Linked DNA regions of Homo sapiens: regions 2, 3 and 4 are each linked to region 1. Evidence: promoter capture Hi-C in 16 types of primary human blood cells and fetal thymus (Javierre and others, 2016). All regions are on one chromosome and are shown on one strand. The core of a region is centred on a gene start or on the middle of the fragment in contact, and the rest is flanking DNA. Distances in the headings are between cores, read along the strand shown.

What was found. Contacts are between HindIII fragments. The CHiCAGO score rates a contact against its expected background, and 5 or more counts as called.
Region 2: a contact is called between a fragment that was not itself captured here and the fragment with the promoter of TP53INP2 in region 1, in 1 of 17 cell types (neutrophils). The highest score is 6.4, in neutrophils.
Region 3: a fragment that was not itself captured here is called in contact with the fragment with the promoter of TP53INP2 in region 1 in 2 of 17 cell types (neutrophils and naive B cells); the score reaches 8.6 in neutrophils.
Region 4: a contact is called between a fragment that was not itself captured here and the fragment with the promoter of TP53INP2 in region 1, in 17 of 17 cell types (megakaryocytes, neutrophils, naive CD4 T cells and 14 more). The highest score is 21.2, in megakaryocytes.

The regions. Positions count from the first base shown.
Region 1 is chr20:34,702,241-34,707,557 of GRCh38, forward strand. It overlaps TP53INP2 (tumor protein p53 inducible nuclear protein 2), which reads left to right and starts at 2,104. Exons shown (of 5, transcript NM_021202.3): 1 at 2,104-2,272; 2 at 3,118-3,234. It overlaps LOC105372599 (a long non-coding RNA gene), which reads right to left and starts at 1,942. Exons shown (of 2, transcript XR_936690.3): 1 at 1,897-1,942; 2 at 1,419-1,573. RefSeq lists a silencer at 1,900-2,379. The HindIII fragment of the contact is 9,202 bases long and covers 1-5,317 here.
Region 2 is chr20:34,498,703-34,504,019 of GRCh38, forward strand. The region is part of intron 23 of ITCH (itchy E3 ubiquitin protein ligase); the gene reads left to right. Among named protein-coding and RNA genes, the nearest start is that of DYNLRB1, 15 kb to the right of the region's middle. The HindIII fragment of the contact is 5,199 bases long and covers 1-4,920 here.
Region 3 is chr20:34,517,990-34,523,306 of GRCh38, forward strand. The region is part of intron 1 of DYNLRB1 (dynein light chain roadblock-type 1); the gene reads left to right. Among named protein-coding and RNA genes, the nearest start is that of DYNLRB1, 4.2 kb to the left of the region's middle. RefSeq lists an enhancer at 4,949-5,317. The HindIII fragment of the contact is 4,361 bases long and covers 315-4,675 here.
Region 4 is chr20:34,534,647-34,539,963 of GRCh38, forward strand. DYNLRB1 (dynein light chain roadblock-type 1) reads left to right here. Exons shown (of 4, transcript NM_014183.4): 3 at 1-149. Among named protein-coding and RNA genes, the nearest start is that of DYNLRB1, 21 kb to the left of the region's middle. RefSeq lists a silencer at 4,102-4,211. The HindIII fragment of the contact is 2,327 bases long and covers 1,792-4,118 here.

The sequences.
Region 1 (5,317 bases), core at 854-3,353:
TTAGAACAAACAAGTGGCTTGACAGGAGAGACGTGTTAGGGATTATTTAATTAAAGTCAGCAAGTAGGTCTGAAAGGGTATGAGGTTAGCAGGAAGTGGCTGTGATGGGCAGAGGCTCAGAGTTGCATGGAATGAGGACACTTTGGGTATAACACTCCAAGGGCCACAATGCCACTCCCCTCTCCACCCCTCAGCCTTGGGTTATTTTTTTCTGGCTTCTTCCCCTGTCGCTAGGGTTAAGGAGTCCCTTGGGGGTTTCAGATGAGGCTGGGATAGAGTTTTATCACTAGAGTGCCGGGCACGGTGGCTCACGCCTGTAATCCCAGCACTTTGGGAGGCCGAGGCAGGCAGATCACAAGGTCAGGAGACCGAGACCATCCTGGCTAACACTAAACATACAAAAATACAAAAAATACAAAAAATTAGCCGGGCGTGGTAGCGGGCGCCTGTAGTCCCAGCTACTCGGGAGGCTGAGGCAGGAGAATGGCGTGAACCCGGAAGGCGGAGCTTGCAGTGAGCCGAGATCGTGCCACTGCACTGCAGCCTGGGCAACAAGAGCGAGACTCCGTCTCAAAAAAAAAAAAAAAGTTTTATCACTAGATCATTAACCTCTGGCCTAGGTCACCTCCGGCCTCCTTTTGGGCTAGGTGGGCAGTTCTCGGACCCTCCCCCACCAGCCCTGCTCTGCTGACCTAGAACCTCTGGCCCTGGAGATTCTGATATGTGTATTTGTGGTCTCTTCTCGGGCATCTCCCAGGCCACTGGGAGAGCTGGGGCCTAGAGCGTGGGGTGGGTGGAATCCTGAGGGCAGAGAGTGTGGAAGAATCTTACAATGGCAGCTCTAGAGGGAAGCCTGGATATGTTTGTTTGACAAACTGAGACCCAGAGAGGTAACATGACTTGAGGTCACACAGCAAGTCTAGGGCACAGTCAGGACTGAAAGCCAGGACTCTGGGGAGGCTAAAGCGCCCTGAGGTTTAGACCATCTGGTTCATGTAGAGAATGGAGAGGGTCAGGGCTGGGAGCTATGGGTTCAAATCCTGGCTCTGCCATTGACTGTACTTTTGTGACCTAAGAAAGTCACTTGAGCTCTCTGAGTCTGTTTCCTCAACTGTTAAACGGGACAATATCTACCTTTTGGGTTGTTGTGAAGATAAAAAAACACACCCATAGCACAGGTCGTGGCACACAGTAAGTGTGCCAATACATGTCAGCTAGTGGTATGGTGGTGCAATAGTAGGTGCCTAATAAATGTTGAATGCATTGTTGAACATGAGTTCACACGCTAACAGTGAGATTGTGAGACTCAGCTTTCCCACGTGTAAATCAGGACTCATAATCAGTCCCTGTCCTGCCACTTCTTTACAGCCCCGGTAGCAACATAGATTAAATAAGGTATGTAAACGTTCAAGCGCGGAGCCGTCTCAGGTCAATGTTTACTCAGCCCAGGGCAATTCCTCTCCAAGTCCTACTCTGCGAAATTTCACGTCAGCTTCACTAACTTCTCTACATTCCCAGATGCTCCCCGGGAACCGGGGGTTGGGGATGTCCCTCTTTTCTCAAGCCCGCCGAGCTGAGGAAAAACGGGGTGGGAAAGCAGAGTGTGTAAGGCTGAGGAGGTGAGCCAGAGGGGGGAGGGAGAGCAGGAATAAGGGCAGTGGGGAGAATGCAGGTGCACGGACGTGGTGTGGGTCGAGAACAGGGTCCGCATCGGGGGACTTGGATATAGGATGCAGTGAAAGGATTTGGGGAGCAGTGGGAGAGGTGAGGGCGCTGCGATCCGGGAAGAATCAGGAAAATAAGGAGCCGGTAGGAGGGAGTGGAGATCCTCCTCGCGGAGAGCTCGCCGCGGCGCAGGGCTCCCAGCTCCCCGCAGCTGCCTCCCCGAACACTCACCCTCCCGGTTCCGAGAACGTTTCCCGGCCCGAGCGCCCGGCCCGCAAACCGGGAGGGGAGGGGAGGGGAGGGGCAGGGGGGGATCCGCAGCCCGGGATTGGCCGCCGCCCCGCCAGCCGGTGACGCGAGGCGGGCGGGCCCCTTTGTGACGTCACAATCAGCTGTTTGAACGTTCCAATTTGTGCCGTGAGCCCCGCCGCAGCGGCCGCACAGACTCAAAGCCCCGCGGGCGAGCTCAGCAGCCCGGAGCGACCGCGGCCCCGCCGCCTCCCCCGCGAGTCCCGGCGATGCGGCCCGGCCTGTGAGCGGCCGGCGACCCTGGGACGCCCCGCCGCACAACTACCTCAACGCCGTGCCGCCCCCCTCCCGCCCCCAGGTGAGTCCCGACCCGGGTGGGCCTGGGGGCTCCCCTGCCACGGACACGCCCTGCGCCCCCCGCGCCCGGGCCTTTGTCTGTCTCCGCCGGCGGCCGCCGGGGCCGCGTTCCCGGCTCCCGATTGGTTGCCGCACGCCCGGTAGACCATGACGTCGTTCTATTTGCATATGACATTGAGACGTCACCAAGGCCGGTACCGCCCCCACAGGCTCGGGTCGCTTGTCCTCCCGTGACCCGGTAGCCGCTGTGTCGGGGCTGGGCCCTGGGTGAGACGCTGCAATCCAAAGGGGGCTGCAGGGGGATCGGCGATTTCCTAGGCTTATCCAGGGGCTGGGGTCAGGCCTCTGATCCCCTACTTTCTCTTTGCAACCTGAGAAGGAGTCAGACGGCGCTGCTGGGCCTAGGTTGAGGGGGTCGTCAGGAGTTCAGGGCTGCATGGGACTCCAGGTGGTTGGGACAGCACCAGATGGTGGTGGGATCCCCTCCCTCCGGCTCCAGACTCCGCCCCCAGGGACTAACAGAATAACATCCTCCTAATCCCTGATTTGTGTGCAGCGCCTTAGCTGATGTCACTCCTAGACCCAAAATGAAGGGTCTTAGACCCCAGTGCATGGAAGGGGCAACAGGCCCAGAGAGGAGGATTAGCTCTCTCGAGGTCACATAACCAATTAGAGTCATGCTCACTGAGTGACAGATGGATTATTAGCCAGGGGCAAAGACATAATAGGGGCTCAGTACAAGTGGTAAGATACACATCCTCCTTCCACTGGGGACCCGATCTTGGGCTCAGCCTTATCACGGTTTGATAGGCTCCTAGGTGTCCTTACTCCTGGACCCTTTTCCAGGGAATCTCTGGAGATTGGTTCACCTTTTGTGGTCCTGACCCCTTCTGTCCTCACTGTACCTTGAAGTCCTAGAGTCCAATAAAATCGCTGCCTCCCAGCTGTTTGGATCACAGAGAGGTGAGTCATTGGCTGCCTCGGGGTGTCTCCAGGGCTGATGTTGGGGTGGAGGGTGGGGTGAGGGTTCCCTCTATTGGCCCTTTACCTTCCCAACTTCCTAGGTCGTCAGCTAGGAAGGGCCTGACCTGGCCTAGTGCAGACAATTGCAGGTGTTTTGCTGCTCCCTCGTCACCTCTGCCCACAGAGAGTATAGGAGAAGGGATAGGATAAGGAGAGTTTCTGACTTAACAAGTGGATGGGCCTAGAGGCTGAACCAGGAACTCCATTCCTGCTGGGAGTTTGCTCAAGGATGGGCTGGGGGTAGGGGTGGCTTAGGGCACAAATGCTATTCTGGGCAGAGCTGCTGTAGTTATTAAAGGGAATGGTTCTCCCTGGAGCAGAACTGGGAATGTGAGAACCAGGAAGCTGGCAGGGCTGGGAAAGGAAATCTGGGAGGCTCCCCAAGTGGTCAGGAGAGGGGGCAGGCACTGGCTGGCTGGTGACTGCTTTCACTCCTGGCTGTCACTGACTTGCTGTGTGACCTCAGGCAGGGAGCTTTTCCCCTGAGCCTCCCTCCCCTAAACCTATCTGAAATTTGGGGAGGCACAGTGCAGGCTCTGGTACACAGTGGGTCTTCAGTAAATGCATGCTAAATCTTGGTGCCAGTAACCCCAGACCCTTTTGTAGCTAGGCGAGGGGTGGTGTGGCTAGGTCAAGGTCTTTTTCACCTCCCTGTACCCCTGCATCATTGTATTCTTGGGGATTGTTTGCTGAGTCTTTCCTGACTGTGTACACTCTGGACTGGATGCACAGTAACGTGGGACTAGGTCTGCCCTGCCACTATCTAGCCATGTATTTTTGGATAGATTTATGTCTTCTTTCTGATCATCAGATTTTAAAATGGGCTGGGTGAATATGATGGTCCCTGAAACAGCTCTTAACTTCTCTTTCATATTCCATGAATTAGTAGGTTCTTGGAAGGAGGATGTGCCTCATCAAGGCCTCGATATTCCCTTCCTTCAAGAGGGGCCAAACTTTCTGGGCTTTTGGTAATGGAGTCACTAGCTCCCTGTGGCTACATATGGGTTGGGATACATGAATTGTGCTGGGTGGACACTAGTTGGGGGTGGCCCCACCTTCTTAATCCCTGTAGATCTCCCACCCCCATCCCACCAGAGAAGCCAGCATCTTAAGCCTACTGTGAGTCTGCAGATGTGGAAATATTCTCAGGGTATGGAAGTGAGGTGATTCTGCAGCAAGTGTGAAAACATTTCTAGGGAATGGGGGAGGTAGCAATAAGCATGGCAATACTGCAGGTGGATTAGCAGAAAGAGGAGAAATGCCTTCAGGGAAGTCTGGACATGCCCCCAGGAAGTTCTACAGGAAGTGTGGAAACACCCTTAGAGAATGGTGACAAGTGTCTCAGCAGCAAAACCGTTGAGCATCTTTAGGGAACAGGTGTGGAGAGTCAGTCAGGCTTCAGGTACTGGGGGAGTATGGCCAGCAGCCCCCAGCCAAGCTCTAGTCCTGAGGTAGGCTGGCATGGGGAGGGGGTAGATCTAGAGCTACCACCTTGGTGTTTCCATTTCTGCAGTAGGGGGCCTCCCTCTTCATCTTCACCCAGGGAAGGATTGGTTAAGGGCTTACCTCGGTCTGGGTCCAACCCTCAGTGCTCATCCTTAAGGGCTCCTGGGAACTGACAGCTCCCTCCCTTCATCATCACCTCCCACTGACCTGCTGTCTCACTGAGCCCAAGCAACCTGATCTTCCTCCTACCCCTGGATGCTGCCCTTGAACAGGAGCCTGGGAAAAGGGGGTCAGAGGGGGGAGGGCCTGCCGGCATGCCATCTTTACACTTCATATGACAGACACAACCGAGGTGTGCCAAATCACATGGTAAGATGGTAGCAGTTCTATGGGATTTCTGCTGGCCAGTGCTTTTCAAACCACACAGGCTCCAGGAGTGGTTCTTAATCTCTGGGGTCAAAGATTGCTGTTTAGGAAATCATGATGAAAACCAAGGTCCTTTTTCCCAGAAAAATACACATGGACCATGACCCCTGGCCACCAAATTGAAAATATCAAATTCAGACAGACACCCAGA
Region 2 (5,317 bases), core at 1,071-3,570, 200 kb before region 1:
CTTGTATTTCATTGAGGATTTTTGCATCTGTGTTCATCAAGGATATTGGCCTATAGTTTTCTTTTCTTTTCTTTTCCTCCTTTTTTTTTGTTTTTGTTTCTTGTATCCTTGTCTAGTTTTGGTATCAGGGTAACGCTGGCCTTGTAGAATGAGTTTCAAAAAATTCTCTCTTCTATTTTCTGGAAGAGCTTGAAAAGAATTGGTATTAGTTCTTCTTTAAATGTTTGTTAGAATTCCATTGGTTCCTAGACTTTTGTTTTCTTTGATGGGAGACTTTTTTTTTTTTTCTTGAGACAGAGTCTTGCTCTTTCACCCAGGCTGGAACGCAGTGGCACGATCTCGGCTCACTGCAACCTCCGCCTCACAGGTTCACACCATTCTCCTGCCTCAGCCTCCCGAGTAACTGGGACTACAGGCGCCTGCCACCATGCTCGGCTAATTTTTTGTCTTTTTAGTAGAGACGGGGTTTCACCGCGTTAGCCAGGATGGTCTCGATGTCCTGACCTTGTGATCCGCCCGCCTTGGACTCCCAAAGTGCTGGGATTACAGGCGTGAGCCACTGTGCCCAGCTTTTTTTTTTTTTTTTTTTTTTTTTTTTTTTTTTGAGACAGTCTTGCTCTGACACCCAGGCTGGAGTGCAAATGGGAGACTTTTTATTACAGATTCAGTCATGTTACTTATAATTGATCTTTTCAGCTTTTCTGCTTTTTCTTGGTTCAGTCTTGGTAGGTTGTATGTGTCCAGGAATGTATCAATTTCCATAGGTTTTCTAAGTTGGTGTGTAGTTCATAATAATTTCTAAAGGTCCTTTGTATTTCTGTGGTGTCAGTTGTAATGTCTCCCTTTTCGTTTCTGATTTCATTTATTTGGGTCTTTTCTTGGTTAGTTTAGCTAATGGTTTGTCAATTTTGTTTATCCTTTCAGAAAAAAAAAACAACTTTTCATTTCATCTATCTTTTGTCTTCATTTTTAGCCTCATTTTTGTTTATTTCTGTTTTGATCTTTATTATTTCTTTCCTTCTAGTAATTTTGGGTTTGCTTTGTTCTTTTCTGGTTTCTCAAAGTGTATCATTAGGTCATTTGTTTAAAATCTTTCCACTTTTTTGATGTAGGCATTTATTGCTATAACATTACCTTTTAATATTGGTTTTGCTATATTTTATAATTTTCAATATATTGTGTTTCCATTTGCATTTGTTTCATGGAATTTTTAAATTTCCTTTTACATTTCCCCATTGGTCATTCTGGAGCACGTTTAATTACCATGTATTTATACAATTTTGAAAGTTCCTCTTTTTATTGATTTCTAGTCTTACTCCATTGTGTTCAGAAAATATATTTGACATTATGACTTCAGTTCTTTTAAATTTGTTGAGACTTGTTTTGGGTCTTAATATGTGGTTTCCCCAGGAGAATGTTCCATGTGCTGATGACAAGAATGTGTATTCTGAAGCTGTTGGATGAAATGTTCTATGAATGACTGTTAGGTTCATTTGGTCTGAAGTACAGTTTAAATCCAATGTTTCTTTGTTGATTTTCTGTCTAGATGATCTATCCAGTGCTAAGAGTGGATATTGAAGTCCCCAACTAGTATTGGAGTCTGTCTTTCCCTTTTAATATAATAATATTTCCTTTTTATATCTGGGTTCTTTGGTGTTGGGTGCATATATAACTCTCATATCCTCTTGTTGAATTGGTCCCTTTATCATTATAGAATGCCCTTTGTCTCTTTTTATAGTTTTTGATTTAAAGTCTGTTTGCCTGATATATGTATAGCTACTCCTGCTCACTTTGGATTTCCATTTCCATGAAATATCTTTTTCATCCCTTCCTTTTCAGTCTGTATGTGTCTTTACGGGTAAAGCAAGTTTCTTGGAGGCAGCATATGATAGTTGGGTCATTTTTCTTTTTAAATCTATTCAGCCAGTCTATATCTTTTTAGTAGGGAATTTATCCACTTATATTCAAGGTTATTACTGATAGATCAGGACTTACTCCTGTCATTTTTAAAATTACTTTCTGGTTGCTTTATATATCCGTCGTTCCTTTCTTTCTCTCATTGTTTATCATTATGGTTTTTGTGGTTTTCTATAGTGCTAAGGTTTGGTTCTTTTTTCCCTTAGTGTATCTGCTCTACCAGAGTGTTATATTAATACTTTTTGTGTATTTTCATGAGAGTGATTATCATCTTTTCACTTCCAGATGTGGGAGTCCGTTGAGCATTTTTCATAAGGTGATGAATTCCTTCTATTTCCCCATGTCTGGGAAATACTGTATTTCTCCTGTATGTCTGAAGGATGGTTTTGCTGGGTATAGTAATCTTGGCTGCCAATTTTTTTCTTGCAGTACTTTGAATATTATCTCATTCTCTCCTGGTCTGTAAGGTTTCTGCAGAGGCAGCCATCTAGTTTAAACTTCCACCCAGCACAGGAAGAGAAAGTTTTAGAGGTGGTGTATGTAATTCTTTAATGGGATGCTTCTTGACCTTGGGGATGGATCCAACATCCCACTTTTATTAATATATATTCATAATATCCCCTTTAATACACTGATTTATGGATGAAATAACCTATTGACAATCCCTAGAAAATACTTATACATAGCCTTAACTGTAATATAAGGGATTAAATTTTTTAGGTAATTTATAATGAAATAATATGTGTTTTAATACATGTCTATTTGGGGACAACTATGTTAGAAGATATACCTAAGAAGTCAAATATTTGTTCCTACTTATAAGAAAAGGTTTAAGACAAGATCAAAAGCCATTCTCTATAAGAAGTACTGGAAGGGCTGAGTGCGGTGGCTCACGCCTGTAATCCCAGCACTTTGGGAGGCTGAGGCGGGCGGATCACCTGAGGTTGGGAGTTCGAGACCAGCCTGACCAACATGGAGAAACCGTATCTCTACTGAAAATACAAAATTAGCCAGGCGTGGTGGCACATGCCTGTAATCCCAGCTACTCAGGAGGCTGAGGCAGGAGAATCGCTTGAACCTGGGAGGCAGAGGTTGCAGTGAGCCAAGATCGTACCATTGCACTCCAGCCTGGGCAACAAGAGCGAAACTCCATCTCTCAAAAAAAAAAAAAAAAAGACAAGTAGTACTGGAAAATAAAAGAACAGATGAGAAAGATAAATAATAGACTTAAGTATATGTGATAACAAAAGGAGGGAAGTAACCTAAATAAAGTATGAATAATACACCTGCAAAAATAAATTATAGATGGTCAAGGTGGAGAAAAATGAGGTAGATCTTAAAAGCATAGTATCAGAATATATCTCCTGTCATGAAATTCTACTATAGGCCAAGGCTCTAACATGTAAAAAAGCCTCGGAGACCATAACATTTGAAAGGTGGCTGAAAATAGGAACATAGGTACAAAAGTCTACACAGAAGTTGTATGGTTTAGGGACAGTGTCAGAGTTTTTAATATTTGATTTTAAATCTATTAAAAGCAATTCAGAATCCTTTCTGTTACATACTAATGTGCATTATTAAATGAAACTCCTTTCCATCTATGTAGTTAAATATGCTGCTAGGTATGGTGGGCACACATCTGTAGTCCCAGTTATTTGGAGGCTGAGGCAGGAGAATTGCTGGAGCCCAAGATTTCAAGCCTGTAGTGCACTATAACTGCTTCTGTGAACAGCCACTGCACTTAAGCATGGGCAACATAGTGATACCCTGTGTCTTAAAAAAAAAAAAAATTTATAAAAAATGAAATGTGACCAGGTACAGTGACTCACACCTGTAATCCCAGCACTTTGGGAGGCCGAGACGGTTGGGTCACTTGAGGTCAGGAGTTCAAGACCAGCCTGGCCAACATAGTGAAACCCCATCTCTACTAAAAATACAAAATTAGCCGGGTGTGGTAGTGGGCACCTGTAATCCCAGCTACTCGGGAGGCTGAGGCAGGAGAATCACTTGAACCTGGGAGGCGGAGGTTGTGGTGAGCCAAGATTGCTCCACTGCACTCCAGCCTGGGAGACTCCGCCTCAAAAAAAAAAAGAAAATGCTATAAAATATTGAGTAGAGGGTGGACATGATGGCTCATGCCTGTAATCCCAACACTTTGGGAGGCCAAGGTGGGTTGATCACTTGAGGCCAGGAGTTCAAGACCAGCCTGGCCAACATGGTAAAACCCCATCTTTACTAAAAATACAAAAATTAGTTGGGTGTGGTGGTGCACATCTGTAATCACAGCTACTCTAAGGCATGAGAATTGCTTGAACCCAGGAGGCGGAGGTTGCATTGAGCCAAGATTGTGCCACTGCCATCCAGCCAGGGTGACAGAGTGAGACTCTGTCTCAAAAAATATATATATTGAGTAGAGAGAACATGCAGAGTGAGTTAATTTTAATTTATGTGTTGAACACCACAGAATAATTTTAACTGTGTTTTTTTATAACGTTTCCTATATTACTGGACTTTTTACATAACTACTTGTGAAAACAATTCAGTGTTATTAAATACAAAAGCACTAACAATTTATATTGGGTATACTTAGTATACAGGGTTTAGTCAGGTGGGACATGAGAAAGTTCTTTGTGTCTGACAGTGTCACACATTACAGAACAGTTAGCGTTCCTGCCCCCTTCTAATTAAAATATCTAGTAGCATTACCAGTCATTGAGACCAACAATAAATGCTTCCTAGGGAAAAGTAATGATCTTTTAAAAAACTGGTGTTTTTATGATCACTTTTCACAGCTATCTCCAGCAGCAGGTAAATGAGGGGCAAGTATTTTATGTTTATACTTGTATCTGTTTTTGTAAGGGTATGCCCTACAGGACCTGTAAGTTCCAGCATTAATAATATGGAATTCACTAGGATATTTACATTTCACAAAGTTTTATTAATTCTGTATTTAAATCAAGTTTTATTGTAGTTTCGTTATTGTCTTTCAAACTACTAAAATTAAGCTTTTTGTGTGTTCTTGTGTAAGCTTTTATTAATCATAACAATGTGTTATTCCGGCTAAAGAATGCTAGATGAAACTGCATTTTCTCCTTTGGGACTTATATTAACAAACTATAGTCTTCAAACTTTTACACTTACCAGAATCACCCGGAAGCTTGTTAAAGCACATATTGCTGAGCCTGACCCCTAGAGTTTCTTTTTTGTTTGTTGGTTGCTTTTGGGTTTTTTGGGTTTTTTTTTTTTTTTGGTTTTTTTTTTTTTGGTTTTTTTTTTTTTTGAGATAGGGTCTCGTTCTGTCACCCGGGCGAGAGTGTAGTGGCGCAATCTTGAGTCACTGCAACTTTGCTGCACAGATTCAAGCAATTCTCCTGCCTCAGTCTCCTGAGTAGCTGGGATT
Region 3 (5,317 bases), core at 1,245-3,744, 180 kb before region 1:
TATTATGAATAGTGCTGCAATATGAACATGAGGATGTAGGGATGCCTTTGATGTACTAATTTCCGTTCCTTTGAATAAATACCCAGTAGTGGTATTGCTGATTTATGGTAGGTTTTTTTTTTCGTTTTTGTTGTTGTTTTTGTTTTGTTTTGTTTTTTCGATGCCTTTGTCGAAAATCAGTTGGCCGTAAATAAGTGGATTTATTTCTGGGTCCTCTATTCTATTCCATTGGTCTGTGTTTTATACCAATACCATGCTCTTTTGGTTACTATACCTTTCTGGTATATTTTGAAATCAGGTAGTGTGATACCTCAAGCTTTGTTCTTTTCGTCCAGGCTTCTTTTGGCTTTTCTGAGTCTTTTGTGGTTCCATACGAATTTTAGGATTGTTTACAGGTAATACTTGCACACAGTAAAAAAATAAATGATGTAAAAGGATCTAAGTGAAAAATAAAATTCCCACTCTCCTAACCCCCAGTCTCAGTCTCTCCTCCTTTAGAAACAACCATTGTTAGTTTCTTTTTTTTTTTTTCTTGCAAACTTGACCCTCCTGGGCTCAAGTGATCCTCCTGCCTTAATTCCCCAAGTATCTGGGACTACTGGTGCACGCCACCACACCCTGCTAATTTTTTTGTATTTTTTTTTTGTAGAGTTGGGGTTTTGCCATGTTGCCCAGGCTGGTCTTGAACTCCTGGGCTCAAGTGATTCACCCACGTTGGCCTCCCAAAGTGTTAGGATTACAGGCGTGAGCCACCACACCCAGCTGTTAGTTTCTTATGCATCTATACAAGCACTTATATGGCCCCCCTTTTTCTTACTTAAACTGTAGCTTTCTAGAACCTGTATTATGCTACTCCGTGGTTATACTCATAAAAGCAATGCAAATTTAGATGCCTAGTTTAACTTTTTTTTTTTTTCTTTTGAAACAGAGTCTTGCCCTTTCGCCCAGGCTGGAGTGCAGTGGTGTGATCTGAGCTCACTGCAACCTCTGCCTCCCGGGTTCGAGTGATTCTCCTGCCTCAGCCTCCGGAGTAGCTGGGACTGCAGGAGCATGCCACCATGCCTGGCTAATTTTTCTATTTTTGGTAGAGACAGGGTTTTTTTTCTATTTTTAGTAGAGACAGGGTTTCACCATGTTGACCAGGCTGGTCTCAAACTCATGACCTCAGGTGATCCGCCCACCTCCGCCTCCAAAAATGCTGGGATTATGGGCGTAAACCACCATGTATGTTAACAATTTGAAGCAGTACCAGAGGATATAATATAGAAAGTTTATGTGGTCCCCATCTTACTACCCCGTGGCAACTTCTGTTGGCAGTTGGGTGTGTTTCCTTCCAGATGTGTTTGGTGCATAAGCACATTTATGTATAAGCTGTTTATTAGATGAAACTGGAATATATATATATTTGTATATGTTAACTTTACTTTAAGGCTGAAGTGGAGAGATCGCCTGAGCCCAGGAGGTCAAGGCTACAGTGAGCCGTGACTGCACCACTGCACTCCACCCTGGGTGAGAAAAAAATAAGAGAAAACAGAAGTTGACTTTAAGATATATATGTATATATCTTATTCTGCAACTTGTTCTGTTCACTTAAAAATATCACACATTTTTCTGTGTTATTATATGCAGGTCCACTTCATTCTTTTTAAGGTCTGTATCGTATCCTAGTCCCATATGTACATTTAGGTGGTGTATAGTTTTTTTATTCCAGACACTGCTGCAGTAACTGTTCTTGTCTTTTTTGCACTCATGCTAGTGGTTATGTAGGATAGATTTCTACAAGTGGCACTTTTGGCTTGCATATTTTACATTTTAGGTGGAAACTGACCTTTAGAATAATGATATAAAAATCATCTATAATTGGCCGGACACAATGGCTGACGCATATAATCCCAGCACTTTGGGAGGCCAAGGTGGGCAGATCACTTGAGGTCAGGAGTTGGAGACCAGCCTGGGCAACATGGTGAAACTCTGTCTCTACTAAAAATACGAAAAGTAGCCGGAAGCCGTGCATCTGTAATTCCAGCTGCTCAGGAGGCTGAGGCACTAGAATCGCTTGAACCCGGGAGGCGGGGGTTGCAGTGATCCGAGACCAGGCCAGTGCACTCCAGCCTGGGCAACAGAGCAAGACTCTGTCTCAAAATAAATAAATAAAATTAAAAAATAATCACATATAATTCTCCTCGTCCAGTTTCACTGTGCCACATAACTATTTTCATCTTTGTATGTTCTCCTTCCTCTTTTGTTCACATATGCATATTTTCCAAGATAATGCATGCTGAGTTTTGGGGGGATTTTTTTCTTTTTTTGTTGTTTTAATATCCAAAAACATTTAACCTTGTTGTCATATCATCTTTGTGATTAACTACTTAGTGACTACATAATACTCGGTGAAATAGTTGTACCATAATTGGCCAAATATCTTACCTGTGTACATTTGGGTTGCTCCCATTTCTTTTTGGTTTGTTTGTTTTAGAGATGGAGTCTCACTCTGTTGCCCAGACTGGAGTTCAGTGGCTCAATCTCAGCTCACTGCAACCTCTGCCTCCCAGGTTCAAGTGATTTTCCTGCCTCAGCCTCCTGAGTAGCTGGGATTAACAGGTGTGCATCATGACGCCCAGCTAATTTTTGTATTTTTTAGTAGAAACAGGGTTTCGCCATGTTGGCCAGGCTGGTCTCAAACTCCTGACCTCAGGTGATCCGCCTGCCTCAGCCTCCCAAAGTGCCAGGATTACAGGCATGAGCCACCATACCTGGCTGCTTCCATTTCTTAATTAGTAGAAATAGTGCTGTGATGATGCTTCTGTGAATATCTTGTTTTGTTTCATTTTAACTTACTTATTAGATTATTTCCTCAGGATAAAATTCTTAGGAAAATAATTTCTGAGGTGGAAGGACCAGTGCTTTTATGGTTCTTGCAATATATTGTCCTGTAGCTTTGTCAAGATTGTATTGCCCTTGCACCTGCCAGTTTTGTAATAACAATGCCAGCATTTAAAAATAAACCTCAGCATTGCTATAATTTTTCATTTCTGTCTTTTTTTTTTGAAATGGAATCTCACTCTGTTGCCCAGGCTGGAGGGCACGATCTCAGCTCACTACAAACTCTGCCTCCCAGGTTCAAGCAATTTTCCTGCCTCAGCCTCCTGAGTAGCTGGGATTACAGGCCCATGCCACCATGACGGCTAATTTTTGTATTTTTAGTAGAGACAGGGTTTCCCCATGTTGGCCAGGCTGGTCTCAAACTCCTGACCTCAAGTGATTCACCCACCTCAGTTTCCCAAAGTGCTGAGATTACAGGTGTGAGCACCACGCCCAGCTGAATTTTTCATTTGTTTGTGAGGGATGATGACCATGGTTTGATGTGATTGTAATTTCTCGTAGGCATATTTTCTACTAGTATTCTTTTGTGCACTACCTACTAGAGACTTGCTATTGTTCTTAGTCATTTTGTGTTTTTTTTTTATTTATTTTGTCTGTTATATTTGATGCAAATACTTTTCTATCCTGTTAGATTAGTTATTCTTATACAGAAGTTTTATGTTTAGTGGTCAAATTGGTCATAGTTCTTTGTCAGTCATTTGCTTCCAGTGGTCATCCCTCCTATGCTGAGCCAATGGATCCTCCTGGATCTTTATTGCTGCTTGTTTTTCCATGTGTCAGGAATGTGCATCTGGGAACTAGAGAATTGGGGAACCTTGTCTCCATCATCCCATTGCCCAGAGTGCATTTCTTTCTCATCATTTGATTCTTGGCTTAAAGATGACATACTTATGGCCGAGAATGGTGGCTCACGCCTGTAGTCCCAACAGTTTGGGAGGCCAAGGCAGTAGATCACTTGAGCCCAGGAGTTCAAGACCAGCCTGGGCAACATGTCGAAACCCCATCTCTACAAAAAATTAGCTGGGTTTGGCAGTACACATCAGTAGTCCCACGTGTTCGGGAGGCTGAAGTGGGAGGATCACTTGAGCCTGGGAGGTCAAGGCTGCAGTGAGCCATGATCGAACCATGGCACGCCTGGGTGACAGAGTGAGACCCTATCTCAAAAAAAAAAAAGATTACATCTCCTCAGGTGTTCCTGACCACATTAGCCAGAGTAGCATCCCTTGCCCCACAGCCTAGTCCCTGTATCCTGCAAGAATCTTGCTCACTTGTTTAAGTCTCTTTCACCAGAATGTGAGCTCCCTGAGGGCAGGGACCTCCTCAGTTGTGGTCACCAGTATATTCAGCTCTTCTGTTGACCTGCAGTGTGTTCTTGGGCAAAACCCTTCTCCTTTCCAAACCTGTTTCCCCATCACTAACATGGAGATCATACTAACCCATGAATGGGAGTTTCAGAAGAGAGCATGTGTCTGAAAGCAATATATGACCCATAGTAGGCGCTGAGTAGGGAAATTATACCTATGTGTCCTCCCATTCCTGATAGATGTGTGAGATGTGTGTTTACTTTTCTTTTTTCTTTCTTTCTTTTTTCTTTTTCTTTTTTTTTTTTTTTTTTTTTTGATGAGTCTTACACTCTGTTTTCCAGGCTGGAGTGCAATGGCGCGATCATGGCTCACTGCAGCCTCGGCCTCCTGGGCTCAGGCAATCCTTTCACCTCAGCCTCCCAACTAGCTGGGACTGCAGGCACACGACACCACGCATGGTTAATTTTTTTTATCTTTTGTAGAGACGAAGCTTCACCATGTTGCCCAGGCTGGTCTCAAACTCCTGGGCTCAAGCAGTCTACCTGCTTTGGTCCCCCAAAGTGCTGGGATTACAGGCATGAGCCACTGTGCCCAGCCCATGTTTACTTTTAAACAGCCAGATCTTAGTATCTGGTTCTCGTTGAGTTTCAGATCACCTAAACCTTAGCTCTTTTTCACACTGTGGACTGTGAGGCCATGTCCCCCTCCTGTACTTAAAAAGGTTGATTTCGTGAAACATAGTTGCAGAAATGCTTTTTATTTGTTCCTTCAGTATTTATTGAGCCTATCCTATGCGAGGTACTGGGGCTATAAAGTCTGGTCTGGTTTCCTGATTCCAGGGTGCCTTGCGTCTGGAGGAGGAGATGAACGTGACCTAAACAGTTGCACTGCATTGTGGTCAGTGCTGCGAAGGCTGGGGGCCTCGGTGCCCAGTAGAGGGGCTGATGTCAGAGAAGCCTCCTGCGGGCTCTGGAGCTGAGTCCAAAGGGTTGGGAGGTAGTTACATCAAGCAGTGAGTGAAGGAGGGAAGCTTGTTTCCTTCAGACCGAGAGCAGCACCTGGCAGGGCAGGGGTAGGAGGCTTCCGCAGGCTGTGTTCGCCCCCTGCTGTCCCTTCTCCCCACAGCAGCC
Region 4 (5,317 bases), core at 1,705-4,204, 170 kb before region 1:
CATGGACAACCCCACCACCACCCAGTATGCCAGCCTCATGCACAGCTTCATCCTGAAGGCACGGAGCACCGTGCGTGACATCGACCCCCAGAACGATCTCACCTTCCTTCGAATTCGCTCCAAGAAAAATGAAATTATGGTTGCACCAGGTAAGGGGTCTTCTACCTCCCCATGTAGGAACAGACCTCATGGCACATTCTCTGTGGCTCATCAGGAGTCCTGGCACAGTGGTGTCTCCAGAGGATCCAAGCAGGGCCCGAGGAGTTGAAGGAATTGGGTTGTTGCCTCACTGCCTAGCCAGCCTCCAGCTGGTGTCCCATAGCAGATCCTCCCAGGGACCGGCCCCAGAGGGTAACCCCAGTCTCCTGAGATAGACAGACACGTGAGCATCATGTGTGTCTCCCCTTCCTTGATAGGAGAAAACTCAAAGGCATTTGGGACATAGAGGAGGGTGTGGCCAGGCCTGTCTGGGGCTGTCTGCAAAAGCTTCCCAGAAGAGGGGACACTGGAGCTGAATCTTAAGGGCACCAGGAAGCAGTGTGAGCAAGGCGGAGGGGCGGAAAGCCACGTTTGGAAGAATATTCAGTGATTCTTCTCCAAAATGTAAAGCAAAAGTACTGTATCATTTTATCCTTGAAAACATGTTCTCTGCCCACTTGTAAAGGCCAGGCCTGTCTTTAGGCCCCTTACAGCCAGCTTTTCCTGCCGCACGGGAGCAGATTGCTTTGTTTCCTTTACGCGAGGTGCTTGCCTTGCATTTGGGGGCTCTGTGGTGCAACCAAGGCCTGTGTTTAGTCCTTAGGATCATTCTCAGGGTGAGGAGATGCTCATTCTGGGAGGAGCCCACAAGGATGGGAGCACAGGAGCGAGCAACAGAGCCACATCTCCTGCCCGGCTCCCTCGCTCTCACTCATGGACTGGGGTGGCAGGCAGAGCCTCCAGGGCCGTCTTTGCATTATTACTTTTTTCTCACTCTGCTTTTTCTTGGCTGAGCCACATAGTTGAGTGTGCGTGCGTCACGTATGCGCGTGATGGTGCACTCCCGCTGCAGTGCCGCTTATCTAGGGCATCAGGATGTGAGTGGGGAGGAGTGGGAGGTGAGGCTTTGGTCCAGTTTAGAAGGGGCCACAAACACCTAACTCAGTTGCATGGACTTGATCTTGCAAGCAGAGGTTTTTAGGGCAGGAGGTGATAGGATTATGATTAGGACCTGGATAAAGGAAGGCAGTGGGGGGTCTGGGGACACTGAATGCTCTGGACTGGCAACACAGAGGGCAAGGAGGCTGGCCACAGAGTTCTGAGGTAATTTGATGGGAGGTCAGCCACTCCCTGCAGCAGACCAGCATAGGTTCTGTCACCAGGCCTGGAAGGATGGGCAGGAAAGAACTATAGAGCCAGTCACAGCAGCCCACAGGCTCCCTGGGACACTCCCTAGAGGGGTGGGGACAGAGCAGTTCAGTCACAGAGAAGAACATAAGAATAACTCCAGAGTCTATTATTCCAAAATCACGCTTCTGTGTGTAATGCCTGATCCATCGGGGAGAAAAGACTGCAGGAGGCACAGAATCTGTTTTCCCAGCTTTGCTTCCCACAAGCATGACCCTGGGCAAGTCGCAGAACACCTGCAAATCCACATCTGTAAAGTGTCGAGTAGGGGACTGTGCTGTGCTGATGTCCTGAGCCACCCTGCCTGGTTGAGTGTGTTGACCTGGGTTGGGGGAAAAAGCCTTGGAATCAGATTTAAACTGCAGTTCCTCCCAGGTTGTCATGTTGTGTGACTGCAGAGGACAAAGCTTCACTCCCCAAAAGTCGGGCCGGGATGGAGCGCAGTGGCTCACGCCTGTAATCCCAGCACTTTGGGAGGCCAAGGCAGGCGGATCACAAGGTCAGGAGTTCAAGACCAGCCTGACCAACATGGTGAAACCCCGTCTCTACTAAAAATAAAAAAATTAGCTGGGCATGGTGGCGCACACCTGTAATCCCAGGTACTTGGGACGCTGAGGCAGGAGAATCACTTGAACCCAGGAGGCGGAGCTTGCAGTGAGCTGAGATCGCGCCACTGCACTCCAGCCTGGGAAACAGAGTGAGACTCTGTCTCAAAAAAAAAAAAAAAAAAAAAGTTGGGCCGGGAACAGTCCCCCTGCTCACCCTGTGCACAGCAGACCTTGTGCTCCCCAGTGGCCCACTGGGAGTTCAGGGTATGGGGGAAGGGAGCAAATTACTTGGTCTCCAAATCAGACAAATTCTCCACAGACAGTGTCCCTTGGCATAAAGCTCCTGAGAATGTCTCCTCTGGAAGGACAGTGTCATCTGAAAGCTCCTGGCCATTCAGGTCTCAACTTGGCAGCGGCAGCGTCTCCAATTTGGCCCTGAAGACCCACAGGCATTCAGAGCCCATGACTGTGGTTGGTGCTTGAGTCCAGAATGGGCAGCTCCCAAGTAGGGGGTTCTCCTTGGGGTTCACAGGCCTGGAGATCCCACAACCTTGTCAGTGGAGGAGGATGAGGTGGCCAGTCCCTCACCTTGGCAGCACTGCAGGGGGCGCCCGTGCTCTCAAGTCACACTGTCTCTCTCCCACACACATGCGGCGCTGTGCTGGAGGACGGTGGCGCGCTGAGCTTGTCTTACAGAGCATGCTTCTTTGGCTCAGCCTCACTGCTGCCACTCAAGTCCTTCCTCGTCACCAAATGCTTACCTGCATTTTTAAGGCCATCTACTCCACTTGAGAGTAAGTTCTATGAGGGCAGGGGCTTGTAAGCACATAGTAAGCATCTAGCAAATATCCATTGATTAAATAAATGAATGACTCTGTAAACCTCCCTCCACTGCTGACACCCCACTGATATGGGTCAGAAGTGGGGTCAGCAGTGGGGACGGGGTCAGGGATGTCTGTGGGGCATAGTTTTAGGATGAAAACCAGTGATTTGACACTTTGACATACCCACTTTTATGTGGCCAAGAAAAAATAATTGGGTTTTGGTGCCAGAACTCCTGTGGTCAGGAGCCACCACGCAGAGCCTAGGAGGCCCTGGCGCTGAATTGCCTCAGGATGGCTACAGAACACAGGACCCAGGGGTGGCCACAGGCGTAGAGCAGGCCTGGCTGCTGCTGGAAGTGCCCGTTTGAGACTGTAGTTAGCACCCTACACATCGTGGGCAGCCTGGAGCAGCCTGGCCCGGGAGGGAGATCCATGCCTTCCCACCTGCCTGACCTGACCCCATCCAGCTGAGGTACTGCTTCCCAGGCTGCAGACAGCAGCAGGTGTTCCAGACAGTGTGGCTCTCCACATGTGTGCCACATTCACCCCACCCTGGCCCAGAACCGCCCACGTGAACAGGCTTTTTTTTTTTTTTTTTTTTGAGACAGGGTCTAGCTCTGTTGCCCAGGCTGGAGTGCAGTGGTGCGATCATGGCTCTCTGCAGCCTCAGCCTCCCTAGTATACTGCTGGGACCACAGGCATGTGTCGCCACACCCAGCATTTTTTTTTTTTTTTTTTTTTTTGGTAGAGACAGGGTTTCACTATGTTGCCCAGGCTGGTGTCAAACTCCTAGGCTCAAGCGATTCTCCCACCTCAGCCTCCCAAAGTGCTGGGATTATATGCGTGAGCCACCATGCCCGGCCAAGACATTTTAACACAAACTTTTGTTAGCTGGACATGGTGGCACCAGTATTCCCAGCTACTCGGGAGGCTGAGGCAGGAGGATCGCTTGAGCCTGGGCAGTTGAGGCTGCAGTGAGCCATGATCACGCCACTGCACTCCAGCCTGGGCAACAGCGAGACCCAGTCTCAAAAAACAAAACAAAAAAAACAGACTTCTAGTTTTCACTTATTAACTTCACTAGTATTAAAGCTGAGGTAACTAACTCAGCCTACACAACCTTCAACACACACTACCTCTCACAAAGCACCTGAAGTGGTATTGTTGCATTTAGGGCTTGATGATTTGGAGTAAAAGACACTGATGTTACCGATTGTGCCTATTTTTATCAGTGGCTTGTTAATTATTTCTGTTTTCATTAGTGATTTTTATGTATGCAGATTGGTTAGCCATGAAACTGTTAGTCACTTCATTTCTGTTTCTTCCCTGTTGCAACAGCCCATCTTCGTGGGAAGAACCAAGCTTTAGGCTTGGCTCTGAACAGCCACAAAGTGACTTGGCTGAGGTCCTGCCATTTCGCTCATGCTCAGCAGGGGGCAGCAGACCAGGGCAGTTCAGAGTATGGGGTCAAACCCAGGTCCCTGTCCCCACTCCACCTGTGGATTTACCCTGGATTGGGCAAGCCCTTTAACTCTCTGAGGCTCCGTGTTCTCAGAGTGACTCGAGGATTCACTGAGGTGCCGTGTGAGAAGTGGGTGGCCCAGACCTGGACACAAAGAAGCCTTGATCAATGTTTGCAGTTTGATTAAGTGGGTAAATCTGCATATATAAAAATCACTAATGAAAACAAATAATTAACAAGCCACTGATAAAAATAGGCACAATCGGTAACATCAGTGTCTTTTACTCCAAATCATCAAGCCCTAAATGCAACAATACCACTTCTCCAGTTACCTCTTCAGTGAAACGGGAGGCACTCAGGCTCACCTCCAAGGACTTGGACTTGCTGTGATTTAATGGTGGACATTCCTCCTTACAGGGCCAGATCCCTGGAGCTGGAATCCAGGCTGCTTTGTCCCATTTTGAAATTTTCTTATTCAGAAGGTTCTGGAAAGCCAACAAATTGAGTTTGTGACAGAAATTGACATTAACTGGCTGGGTGTGGTTGCTCACACCTATAATCCCAACACTTTGGGAGGCTGAGACAGGAGGATCACTCGAGCCCAGGAGTTTGCAACCAGCTTGGGCAACATAGTGAGACCCCATCTGTACAAAACTTTTTTTTTTTCTTAATGGAGTCTCACTTTATCACCCAGGCTGGAGTGCAGTGAGGCGATCTGCAACTTCTGCCTCCCAAGTTCAGGCAGATCTCCTGCCTCAGCCTCCCAAGTAGCTGGGATTACAGGCACCTGCCACCAAGCCTGGCTAATTTTTGTATTTTTAGTAGAGATGGGGTTTCACCATGTTGGCCAGGCTGGTCTTGAATTCCTGACCTCAAGTGATCTGCCCACCTTGGCCTCCCAAAGTGCTACGTGAGCCACCACGCCTGACCTTCTACAAAAAACTTTTTAAAAATTTACCCAGGTTTGGTGGGGTGTGCCTGTAGTCCCAGCTACATGGGAGGCTGAGGCGGGAGGATCACCTGAGCCCAGGAGGTCAAGGCTGCAGCGAGTCATGATCGCACCACTGTACTCAGCCTGGGTGACAGAGCTCTTGCTC